Linked DNA regions of Homo sapiens: all the other regions are linked to region 4. Evidence: promoter capture Hi-C in 16 types of primary human blood cells and fetal thymus (Javierre and others, 2016). All regions are on one chromosome and are shown on one strand. The core of a region is centred on a gene start or on the middle of the fragment in contact, and the rest is flanking DNA. Distances in the headings are between cores, read along the strand shown.

The links. The method cuts DNA at HindIII sites, captures the fragments that hold promoters and counts their contacts. A CHiCAGO score of 5 or more calls a contact.
Region 1: a fragment that was not itself captured here is called in contact with the fragment with the promoter of NSUN6 in region 4 in 1 of 17 cell types (monocytes); the score reaches 7.8 in monocytes.
Region 2: the fragment with the promoter of MEIG1 here is called in contact with the fragment with the promoter of NSUN6 in region 4 in 1 of 17 cell types (naive CD8 T cells); the score reaches 6.8 in naive CD8 T cells.
Region 3: a contact is called between the fragment with the promoter of NMT2 here and the fragment with the promoter of NSUN6 in region 4, in 1 of 17 cell types (naive CD8 T cells). The highest score is 6.1, in naive CD8 T cells.

What each region holds. Positions count from the first base shown.
Region 1 is chr10:22,700,463-22,703,490 of GRCh38, forward strand. All of the region lies in intron 1 of PIP4K2A (phosphatidylinositol-5-phosphate 4-kinase type 2 alpha), which reads right to left. Among named protein-coding and RNA genes, the nearest start is that of PIP4K2A, 13 kb to the right of the region's middle. RefSeq lists an enhancer at 35-94. The HindIII fragment of the contact is 3,898 bases long and covers 1-3,028 here.
Region 2 is chr10:14,957,986-14,960,909 of GRCh38, forward strand. It overlaps MEIG1 (meiosis/spermiogenesis associated 1), which reads left to right and starts at 1,403. Exons shown (of 3, transcript NM_001080836.3): 1 at 1,403-1,572. RefSeq lists a silencer at 1,626-1,675. The HindIII fragment of the contact is 3,683 bases long and covers 1-2,377 here.
Region 3 is chr10:15,167,260-15,169,996 of GRCh38, forward strand. It overlaps NMT2 (N-myristoyltransferase 2), which reads right to left and starts at 1,434. Exons shown (of 12, transcript NM_004808.3): 1 at 1,244-1,434. The coding sequence starts at 1,353. RefSeq lists a silencer at 804-1,633. The HindIII fragment of the contact is 10,106 bases long and covers 1-2,737 here.
Region 4 is chr10:18,650,229-18,652,952 of GRCh38, forward strand. NSUN6 (NOP2/Sun RNA methyltransferase 6) reads right to left here and starts at 1,359. Exons shown (of 11, transcript NM_182543.5): 1 at 901-1,359. The coding sequence starts at 975. RefSeq lists an enhancer at 1,499-1,598. The HindIII fragment of the contact is 3,002 bases long and covers 737-2,724 here.

The DNA of each region.
Region 1 (3,028 bases), core at 239-2,738, 4.1 Mb after region 4:
GTGACATGAGAAATTTTGGATGCATGACCCGAGAAAAGCAAGGCAAACCAGGGCAGCTGCTAGCACACAGGCACCTCTGTGCACATCAGAAAATGAGCCTCCTCTGTGCGGACAACTCACAAAAAGGGTGCCTGTCTCCCGCTAATGCAGCCCCTTGCTATGGTGTGCAGGTGGCAATACTGACGTCAGCCCCCACCTGCCCCTACCACCTGGAGCCTTTGTGCAGGTCATGTAGAATGCTACAGAGGTCATTCTCGGGTTGACTAATACCTAACACCTTCCTCAAAGTCCAGGCTGAAAAAACAAAAGCAAGGCTTATTTATTACAACTACAAATAAACTAAGCTCTGAATGTTAGGGTGTCTAGCAACTTGCAAATATGTTTCTAAGCCTAAATGACCAAGCCTACAGAAACACAAACAAAAGTAATTTAAATAAGAACATGTCCATAAGAATGGAAATGAATAAAACCATAAAATCAGAAGGAGAGAAGTATAGAAGCACCTGAAGAAGGGTTTGGCAGTTCCCTGGAAATGCCACATACCCTTTATGCTTTTCTATGCATTACTCTGCCTGTAACATGTTTTCTCCAGCTTCTCCATCCACCACGCTAATTCAATTCTTGAAGAATTTCAAGAGCCTACCACTAACTCTCCCAGGGCAGTTTATTAATCCTCTTCTGTCTCACAGTATCTGTGTGTACAATCCCAGTTGTGGCAAGAGGGGCAGGGGTATCCCGCCAGAAGCTAACAGCCCCCAAATAACAATAATGTAATGGAGAGTGTGAATGGTAAGAAAATGACCTAGGTGAGTCACTGTCGATTCCTTCCTGTTACCTAACAGTCACCAAATCCAGCTGATTCTACCTGAAATCTCTCTAAGCACATCCTTTGTCTGCTTGTTTACAGCAGTATCTTCAAACCTTTTAGGCTATGGGCCACTTAGACAACACAGCTTCTACCACATCTATACCTGGTTATCCAACAATGTCTGTTACCCCTGCCCAAGCTCAGGTTCCCATCACCTCTGGAAGACAGAAATGGCATTCTTCCTTCTTGCAGTCCCACCTCCTGTCCCACTGACTCCCCTCACAGATCCATCCCTGGAAGGCTGCAGAAGTGCCACCATGCTTTGGCTTCTCACTGTCTCACTTACTGTTGGATTCCCTCTTTTGAAACTTTGAGGTTGATTTGCATTTCTGCTGACAGGGTTATTCAGGTCAGCTCTGCACTGAAAATAAGTAAGCGTCCTGAATAAAATATGTTCTTAAACATCTTCTTGAAGGCATGAAAGAGTTGGAAGAGGGAGGAGAGAAGTCGGCCTGTCAAGATCTTAGTGAAAACTGGAAGCAGGAAGAATAAGTTAGTCATGGAAGCCACTTTGGCTCTAAGGGCTTTGATGGCCTCATGGGTTGACAGGAACAGAAGACAAAGACTAGGGCCCACCCAAGGTGTGAAGTCTAATAGGAAACCTTTTCTCCATAAGGCTACAATGGGTCTACCAAAAATAAAACCATGCCACCCCAGGGACTGCAGCCCAATTTTATATCACCATGAGGTCCAAAAAATTCCAAGCTGTGAATTTAGTTTCAAATGGTCTTGGTCTCCAGTATCCCTAGCCATGTGGCAAAAACAAACAATTCTCTCTGGAAGGATACATCTTTATCTTAAGACTTGAAGAATGTTCCCTGAATGACTATCCAAGGAAGTGAGCAGCTCAGAGCCAAAATGAACCAAACATAAATGGCAACAAGGCACCATGAAGAAGAACCAGCAGAAACAATACACAATAGAAAAAGACCCACAAAGGACTGAGATACTGACATTATCCCTATTCTTACAATGTTTATGCAATCTTAAATTTAACTTATGGTACACTTCTGAATACTACAATTTTTAGAGGCATGTCTGAAGCCATTAAAAGAACAAGTCAGTAATAACACTGCAGCACACTCTTCTAACATAATATCTCAGATTACTTAGAAATGCATTCATAGTCTTCACGCAGTTCACTTGGCGGCCCTTCAACATCTGACACTGTTTGAAAGAAGTTGTTTACTTTCTGAACCTTTTCTGTCGTGTTCACAAGACACAGTTCTTGCATGCTGCTGTAAACATAACCTCTTTCTTTGGCACTGGCTTGCAGTTACCCCATACCTCTTATCACCAATTTGCAGCAAGTTTTTCCCCACTCTCTAACACACTGCACAACCCGCTCAGCAAAATGCTCTAAAATGCTCTATGCTTGATTATAACAAAAGTCAACTTTCTATGTTTATGAAAATTGAATATGGGAGGCCTCATGGTATACCACCTGAGAACTAATGGCCTACGGTTTAGAATCCCAGCCCCACTCATTCATTCAACAATATGTACTGAGCACCTACTATCTAAACACACTGTTCTAGATGCAGGGATACACCTAGTAAATAGGAAAAAGTCTCAGTTGCTATGAAACTTATTGTTCTAGTTGAGGGAGATAAGCAATAAAAATGTACACAACTCAGTTTCAAACAGTGTTAAGTGTCACAGAGAAAATAACAGTATGATAGTGGAGGGGCTCCCTTAGCTTAGGAGGTCAGAGAGGCCATCTGAGAAGGCAACCCCTTAGCTAAGAGACTAAAATAACTAATAGGAGCCAACCATCCAAAGATCTGAGGGCAGGCTGGGCATGGTGGTTCATGCCTCTAATCCCAGCACCTAGGGAGGCTGAGGCAGGAGGATTACTTGAGGCCAAGAGTTGAAGACCAGCCTGGGCAACACAGCGAGACCCCCCATCTCTTACAAAAATTATAAAAATTATCCAGGCATGGTGGTGCACACCTGTAGTCCCAGCTACATAGGAGGCTGAGGCAGGAGGATTGCTTGAGCCCAGGACTTCAAGGCTGCAGTGAGCTATGACCATGCCACTGCACTCCAGCCCAGGTAACAGAGCGAGACCTTGTCTCAAATAAAAAAATAAATAAATAAAAGAGGGAAAAACATTCCCGACGAAGAGAAAAATAAAGACTGAAGAACTGTGGCTGCTCT
Region 2 (2,924 bases), core at 153-2,652, 3.7 Mb before region 4:
GACAACAGACTACAGAGGGGGCATAGAGAGCTGTTGGGAACGGTTGTAATTACCAGAAAAAAGAAAAATTATGATGGCTTGAGTAGAAGCTATAAAGTCAGCAGGTTGCATTGATGGATATGGAAAGAGAGGGCTCTAGGCCACATCTACTAAAAGACATGAAGAAGGAGCAGGGTTTTTGTTTTTGTTTTGGCAGGGAGGTGTTTGGGGAGGTTGTTTTGTACAATCAAGTGGATGTTGAATATACATTGATATACAAATCTAAAGTTCAGAGAAAGACCGGGCTGAAGAGAGAAATTTGGGAGTTGTAAGTAAATAGTTTTTTGTTTTTAGTTTTACTAAGTATTGCCTTTGTTTTAGTATGACTCGTTTATTTAGAAGTTTATATAATTTAATTTGTGATATGTCTTGTGTTTTTGTTTTGTTTGGGGCAGGTGCCCGAGGCCCTTGTCATCTTCATTGACTCCAGCTCATGGCTTGTATTTAACAACGAGCTCAGAAAAATTCCTAAAAATTTAATTACTGAGTCTCCAGAGCTCTAATGAGCTGGCTCCAGCACACAATTGCTCCTTTCTTTCATTCAACAATTTGACAAGTCCTGATGGCTCTACATTCAAAACATGTAAATTGGCCGGGCGCGGTGGCTCACGCCTGTAATCCCAGCTCTTTGGGAGGCCGAGGCGGGTGGATGACGAGGTCAGGAGATCGAGATCATCCTGGCTAACACGGTGAAACCCCGTCTCTACTAAAAATACAAAAAATTAGCCAGGCGTGGTGGTGGGTGCCTGTAGTCCCAGCTACTCGGGAGGCTGAGGCAGGAGAATGGCGTGAACCCGGGAGGCGGAGCTTGCAGTGAGCCGAGATAGCACCACTGCACTCCAGCCTGGGCGACGGAGCGAGACTCCGTCTAAAAAAAAACAAAAACAAAAAAACAAAAAACCGTATATCTTGAATCTGATCACTTTTCGCTTAGATAGTACTGTAATATAGTAATAGATAATGCTAGAAAAAATAATTAAAGCTATAGATATCATCTATTGTAGGTTTACTGATTGTCAGGCACTATGGCGACTCTCTGGAATGGTTCATTCCTCGCAAATGAATAGATAGGAGATATCTACTATCAGGAACTACAAACACAGTCTCCGTGCTGTGATCCGCTTTCACAGGGAATTTTGTCTGGGATTCAAGTAGCGGCAAGTAACCCTTTTTCGCCCTCCATCTCTGCTCAGGGGTGAGCCCTGGCAGCGCTCCTACCTGGGACCTACATTGGCTTAGTAAGATGGGCCGGCGCCCACCCCAGCCCTCGCGCATGCGCATAAAAGCCCACTCCCGGGGGCGGGGCCTGAGCTAGCTGGGCGGGGCCTGAAGGAGCCGGGAGCTCCTGCAGCTTCATCGCGTTACTAAGAGACGCGAGGGTCGCGAAGGGCACAACACTTGGCCTCTCGCTGGCCCTGCTCGCGGATCCCGAGTAGAGAACGCAAGCACCCACGCCCGCCTGCAAGCTCCCGGGCGCCCCCGGCCTCTCCTGCTCGGCGGAACGAGGATAACCCAGTAGAGCCGGACCCAGGGGTGGGTGGATGCGTCGCTGGAGGCGAGGGCCCTGCCCGCCAACCCCTGCGCCCCGGCCGTAGCCCCACCCCGGAAGTTCTTGCCCCGCCTTCTCGGCTCCGCAGTTCTCTGCTGTCTCCTGAGGTTTGCCAGGGAGATCCCGTGGTTTTCATGTCTCTTCCGTGATTTTTAGGGAAGAGGGTCACTATTTGGCCCTTCCAGAATCTCAGGGTCCGGTTCTCCCGGAAGTTTCCGGGCCGCCCCGGACCCCATTGGCTTTAGGGGCCGCGTCTCCGAGGGCTCCGATTTGGGCCCTAGATTTTGGAATACTGTGTTTTGTCCGTCCCAGCCTTCACCAGGCGGATTTCATCTCCCACACAGTTAGTGATTTATGGCAGAAAGGAAGCTGGAGGGATGGGGACTGCAGGTTAGCTGTGAGGGCCGGAAGGGAGCGGTTTTGTGCTGCACACAGGCAGGTCAGCACTCCCAGAGCAGGGACCGCCGGGCGTGCTTTCGGAACCGCTTTTGTCTTTCAAATGAACGCCCAGCGACAGCAGACGGGAGTTCCAGGACCTTAGAGACCGGCTAATGCTTCTCTTTAAGTTAGGAAACAGGCGCAGGCGTGTTCATGGCCTTGCCTAAGGTTACGTGCTGGTTACAGGGCTCCTCCTGCTGCCTCTTAAGAACAGAAATAATCTAATAGGAGGAATAAAAGGGACTATTAGGGAGGCTAATGCTCTTGAAGTTTTAATACTACTAAAAGTAAAAGCGCTTTTCAGAGTGAAAGGGAAGTGAAAAGGGAATTTGGGTGGCTGGCTACATCAGAAGCTTCTGTTCCAACTTTAGATTGTCAGGGAGTTGAGATGGTGTTTTTTGTTTTTATTTTTGTTTTAGTTTTTTGAGACGGAGTCTCGCTCTGTAGCCCAGGCTGGAGTGCAGTGGCGGGATCTCGGCTCACTGCAAGCTCCGCCTCCCGGGTTCACGCCATTCTCCTGCCTCAGCCTCCCGAGTAGCTGGGACCACAGGTGCCCGCCACGATGCCCGGCTAATTTTTTGTATTTTTAGTAGAGACGGGGTTTCACTTTGTTGGCCAGGATGGTCTCGATCTCCTGACCTCGTGATCCACCCGCCTCGGTCTCCCAAAGTGCTGGGATTATAGGAGTGAGCCACCGCGCCGAGATGGTGTGTTTTTAAAATAACGTGCCCGAGGCCGGGCGTGGTGGCTCACCCCTGTAATCCCAGCACTTTGGGAGGCTGAGGCAGGCGGATCACCTGAGGTCGGGAATTCGAGACCAGCCTGACCAACATGGGAAAACCTCGTCTCTACTAAAAATACAAAAAAATTAACCAGGCATGGTGGCGCATGCCTGTAA
Region 3 (2,737 bases), core at 184-2,683, 3.5 Mb before region 4:
CTTGCAAATGGGAGATGCACATAGTCAGCTTTTCTTTTTCTTCATTTGTTAATATTTTATAATGAATTAGAGGTCAGTCAAAAGTCCCTTTCTATAATAAATCTTAAAGTAGACAAGTAGAATGCAAATGATTTACACTTTCAATGATCAATCATTTCAAGAATCTCTCTACGAACTGAGTAAACCATCTGTGACTCAGGCCTCCCTATCATGTTTTTTAAGCTGACCCACTTCTCCATCACTCACCATGGTTCGAAAAATCTCACTTCTAAGGGTGTAGCAAGAACCGCTCTGTGCCAGCGCATAGTTTGAATCCAATAGGGTAAAAGGGTAATGTAAACAGCACTTTAAAAGGACACCAGTTTTTATTTAAAATGACCCACTGCCTCTAAAAAGAGAGCATCAACACCGGCCTTCACCTGAAGCAATCCTTTTCTCCAACAGAAGAGCAAATCAAGTCTGCAGGGTTCGGGGGCAAAGGGAAAGGATTAAGAAATCCGATCAAGTGTGAAAATGCGTGGTGCATCGAGTTTTGGAGATCAAATACCAGCTTTGCAAACAGGATACGGCCAGGTCAGCGGGAGCCCGGTTCAGGGGATCGGCCCTGCTCTGAAGAGCTCTAGGGACAGGCGAGGCGGTGCAAAGCCCAGTATCCCCAGCAGGGGCCGGGCCCGGGACCCCCTCGGCGCCAGAACTTTGCGCAGTTCGCCGCCTGCGGCCCCGACACCATCGGGGCACCTCCACGCCGCTCCACCCACGTCTTTGCCCATTCTTTTCGGGTGGCGGCTGCGGAGAGGGAGTCTGAAGGGACTTAACAAGGATGGCAGGGAGCAGAGGAGGGCGACCTCCTACCCCAGGCTGCGGCCGCCACAAAGGGAAGGGCGTAGCGCCTCTCCTCGGCGCCCACCGGAGCCACCCGCGGGCGAGGGCAACAGGCGCCTCCTGGGCCAGGCCGCCGGCGGGGATGGGCGAGGCTGGCCGGGGGCGCGCGGCAAGTGACAGTAGCGTCTCCCCGCCCGGGCCCCAGCCTCCCCGCCCACCCCGGGCCTCGCCTCCCCGCGCACTGCACTCTCCCGCGAGCCGCGCGCCCCGGACCTCACCATGGGCTCCGCGCCACGGAGAAGCCATCGCGGGGCGGAGCGGCCGAAGAACCCCCAGTCCTGGGAGCCACCCCCGAACGGGAGACCGTGGCGCGCGCGGTCCCCGCCCTGTCGCGCCCGGTGCGCCAGCGCGCCGCCCCTACCCTTTGGCGTGCTCCGTCTCCTCCTCATTGTCCCCGTCTATCCCGCACGTGTCCTGGTCGTCCAGTTCCAGGCTCTGCTGGCTGGCCGCAGACTCGCTGTCCTCCGCCATCGCGGCGGCGCTGGCTGGGGAGGCGGTGCTCGGGGCCGGGCCGGAGCGGCCGCAGCTCCCTCTAGTGCCTCCCGCCGTACTGCTTGGAGTCGGAGCCCGGGCGCTACGCCCCGCCCCGCCCCGCCCGCGCCCCGTCCCGCCCTCCGTCCCGCCCCCTCCCCGCCCTCCGTCCCGCCCCGCCCTCCATCCCCGCCCCTCACCGTCCGCGCCCAGCCCGCCGGCCCCGCCCTGCCCGCCGGCCCCGCCCTGCCCCACGGGCTTGAACCCCGCCCACCTCTTCGTCCCTCCCCACCAAGCCCCGCCTCTCCCCGTCCCGCCGGCTTCAATCCAGCTCTCTAACCCCGCCCGCCTCTGAGACCCCTCCCCTCCAGCCCCGCCTTTCCCCACCCTGCCGGCTTCAAACCCGCCCTCTAACCCCGCCCACCGCCGCAGCCCCTCCCAGATGGCCCCGCCCCTCCCCGCCCCGCCAGCTCCAACCCTGCTCACCCTGGCCAGCCCTGCACAGGGCCGAGTCCTGTACATCCAGGCCTGCGCGGTGCCTCTGCCTGGGGCTCGGCTCTCAAAGCTGCAAACGTGCAGACTTGACATCCTGAGTGGCGGCATTTTTGGAACACAGGCCATGCGATTTTACTTCTGGACGAATTAGGGAGCGCTCCCAGCCCGTGCAGGGGTTTTTCCCACTCAGGAGTAGGCACTCAGGGATGGGGCTTTCCAGAAACTCTTCCCGCCCCTCCACATACATGTTAACAATTCCATTTCGCATCTATCTATCCATCTAATACATTATAAAATCAAATTCAAAGTCAAAAACAGTATTTCCAGCCCTCCACCGCCCTGTCCCAACCAGGCTTGCAGCACTAAAACTCTTGACAGAAATTTTTGAGCTACCCCTGCTTTCCCTGGACACTACTACGGACGGCTCAGACCAGAACAGACATCTTGAGGGACTTGGGGACGTGTCCACGATGCTGGGGGATTGGACAGTTTCAGGTAGGCTACCCTGGCTTTCCCAAAGTCAAGGTCATGACCTAGATTTCCAAGCAAACGTGCACGGCCTTCTGTGCTGAAATTGTCCGCTGTCTCTCTCAGAAGAGGGAAGGGAGGCATTCTGTAGTACTGCCAAATAGAAGACCGGTGAAGTTCAGCCTCTCTTATTTGCTACTGCATTCTGTACAGAGCAGTCCTGTCCTTTGCTTTGCTGAGATGATCTTGTTCAAATGTGCTGCTAGGCCACCGGAAGTCTCCGCAGTGGTTTTGCAAAGATAATCATCAGAACCCGCTCAGTGAGGAAAATGAGACTTTAAAGAGCCACCTGAATTTTTTGGTGTGGGTCCTTTTTTTGCAGAAGATACTAGGAGCATTTTATGGCTTTTTTCCCCAAGGG
Region 4 (2,724 bases), core at 109-2,608:
GTAAAATATTTTTAACTTGACTAAAAAATTAAAGATTTGAAAAAAAACAAAGTTGCTTAGAGGCAGCATGGTAAAATGGAATAGACAACAGGCTTTGCAATCAAAGATAATCAACATTTACTGAGGACTTTAGCAAATAAAATTAACATTTTTTGAGGACTTACATGCCAAAACAATGCTAGTTGTATTCACTTACGTTTAATATCCTAAAACAACCTGGCAAGATATTTTTAACCATTCTCAATTTTTCACAGAAGAGAAAAATCTAGGTTAAGCCACGTAATTTACAAAGCACTAGAATGCAAATCATGTGCCTGAGATTCAAAAGCTGTACCTTTGTTCATTACACCTGAACTCTTTCCCTCCAGATTTCAATAGTTACTTGATAGCTGTGTCAACTTGGATCAGTTACACAATTCCTTGAGCAGTTTTCTGCTCAAGTCTATTAAAAGAGGAAAAACCTCTAAGAAAAAAAAGATTGTGAAGATTAAAGATGCAAATCTCCTAGCACAACTGCTGGCATTTAAGAGGCACTCAACAAATTACAGAAACCTTTTCACCTGAGTGCCAGAGCCAGCGCTCTTTTAAAATTCGATTCGAGTTCTTGAAGACAGGGACCTTTTCTTGTTCATCCTTGTAACCCTTTGTGCCATGCCTGACAGGCACATGCCTTTTTTCCCTTCTTTTCCACTCCTAAATGTTAAAACATATACCTTATTCACTTCGTATCTCAGTAAGCTTTAATACCTGTAGAAACATATTGGTATTTTTACACTTGATAGACAAGTAGTAAGGAACGACGGCTGTCAAGATTTCCCTTTATACTTATTTCTATTTCTCTCGAGTGTGCGAATATTTGAGTTTTTGCAAAATATCAACTAACATCTTTACTTGACCTACCTCCTTATTCATAAAGCCTTCCTTAAGATAGTTTTCAACCTCAGGTCTCAAAGATATCTTAGGGAAAATAGACATTTTTCCTGTTGTTTAGTTCTCCACCAAGAGAAATGCTGGAAAACGGTGTTTTGTTTTTTTTTTTCTTTCCGAATTAATAGTGACGAGTGTCTTGACACCAGATGCTGAGGAAAATCTTGCCGATCACGCTGAGTTAATTTCGGAAATGCAGAGGTACACGCTTTCTCAAGCCTAGCCGATTAGAAGGGGCTGCCGGGCTTCCACCACACCTCATCGAGGCAATGTTTTCTGGTAGAGATGCTCATGGAAATCACTGAGCCAATGCCACTCACGTTGCAAAGAACCAAAAAAAGAAAAAAATGCTTAGTAACTGAATCCGTGGTGAAACGGACGCAGATCAGTAAGCCAGGCTGACAGCAGCTCGGTCCCTTTATCTTTTCTATCAATTTCCAAACACGCGCCCCCTATTTCTCGGCGGAAAGTCGCTTCCGGCTTACGTCACGTCCGGCGCCTGCGGCCCACCCCTCCCTTTCCGGTCCCCCAATCCACAGCCGCAAGTTTCCCCAACACTGCGTTACGCTACGCCACGCCCCCGGAGGTTCCTAACCCTGCGTGAGGCTCTTTCACCTGCCTCAGGTTAAGTAGGCAGACCCCGCGGGCGGGATGGTCAAAGATATTTAGTTCCCGGTACCGGAGGGCTAGGTGCCAGGGGCAATGGGGAAACAGCCAAATGGCGTGGGTTGAGTGGAAGATGTTGCTGGACTGAAAAAAGGCACAGCCCAGTTGCTGTCCTGCCAGATGTCCTCCAGTTAGAGGATGAGGCCAGAATTTGGGCGCATCAGCCACCGTTTGATTTCATGACATGATTTTACCTCTCTCAGGCATACAGATCTGACTTCAGTTGTGAAGTTCATAGGGTTCATATTTTTGAAAGTTGGGCTAATGGTCTGTTAATATCCAATGCTCAGGTAAAACTTAAAACCCACAGACAGTGTTTACAGTTAGTTATAAGGCTAACTGCTACTTGTATCATAGTTGACATATTCTTTAGAGTTTGGAAGACCCTCGCCATTATTTTTTTTTCTTTTTTTTCATCATAAGCAGACAAGGATATAGATTCAAAGAACGAGGATATCTAACCAAACTCACTGAGTCATTTTATAACTGTACAGGAAAGTCAAAATAATTCTATCACCTTGACATATGTTTTTTGCAGCACACCATGGTAATTTACACATAAGTATAGGAAAGGGTTTTTTATTGTTTTTTTCTCTTTAATTTTCACACCGAATTATACACACAGACACACACACATAGAACAGGTACTTTCCATGACACACCAACTCTTTACCAGAAAGAGTAGAAAATAATGAATGACCATTATACCACACAACAACCTGCAAGTTGTTTATCATTTTCTCTGCTCTTTTTTTTTTTTTTTTTTTGAGTCTCTGTCGCCCAGACTGGAGTGGAATGGTGGGATCTCGACTCACTGCAACCTCCACCTCCTGGTTCAAGAGATTCTCCTGCCTTGGCCTCCCGAGTAGCTAAAATTACAGGCATGTGCCACCAGGCCCAGCTAATCTTTGTAATTTTAATAGAGACGGGGTTTCACCATGCTGGCCAGGCTGGTCTCAAACTCCTGACTTCAACTGATCTGACTCTCTAGCCTCCCAAAGTGCTGGGATTACAGGCGTGAGCCACCACGCCCAGCCCATTTTCTCTGTTTTAAAGAGTAAATCAAGGTTCCTAGGGTTGAAACAACTCTCCATGTTCTCACAAATAAAAAGCCAGGATAAAGACTAGTAA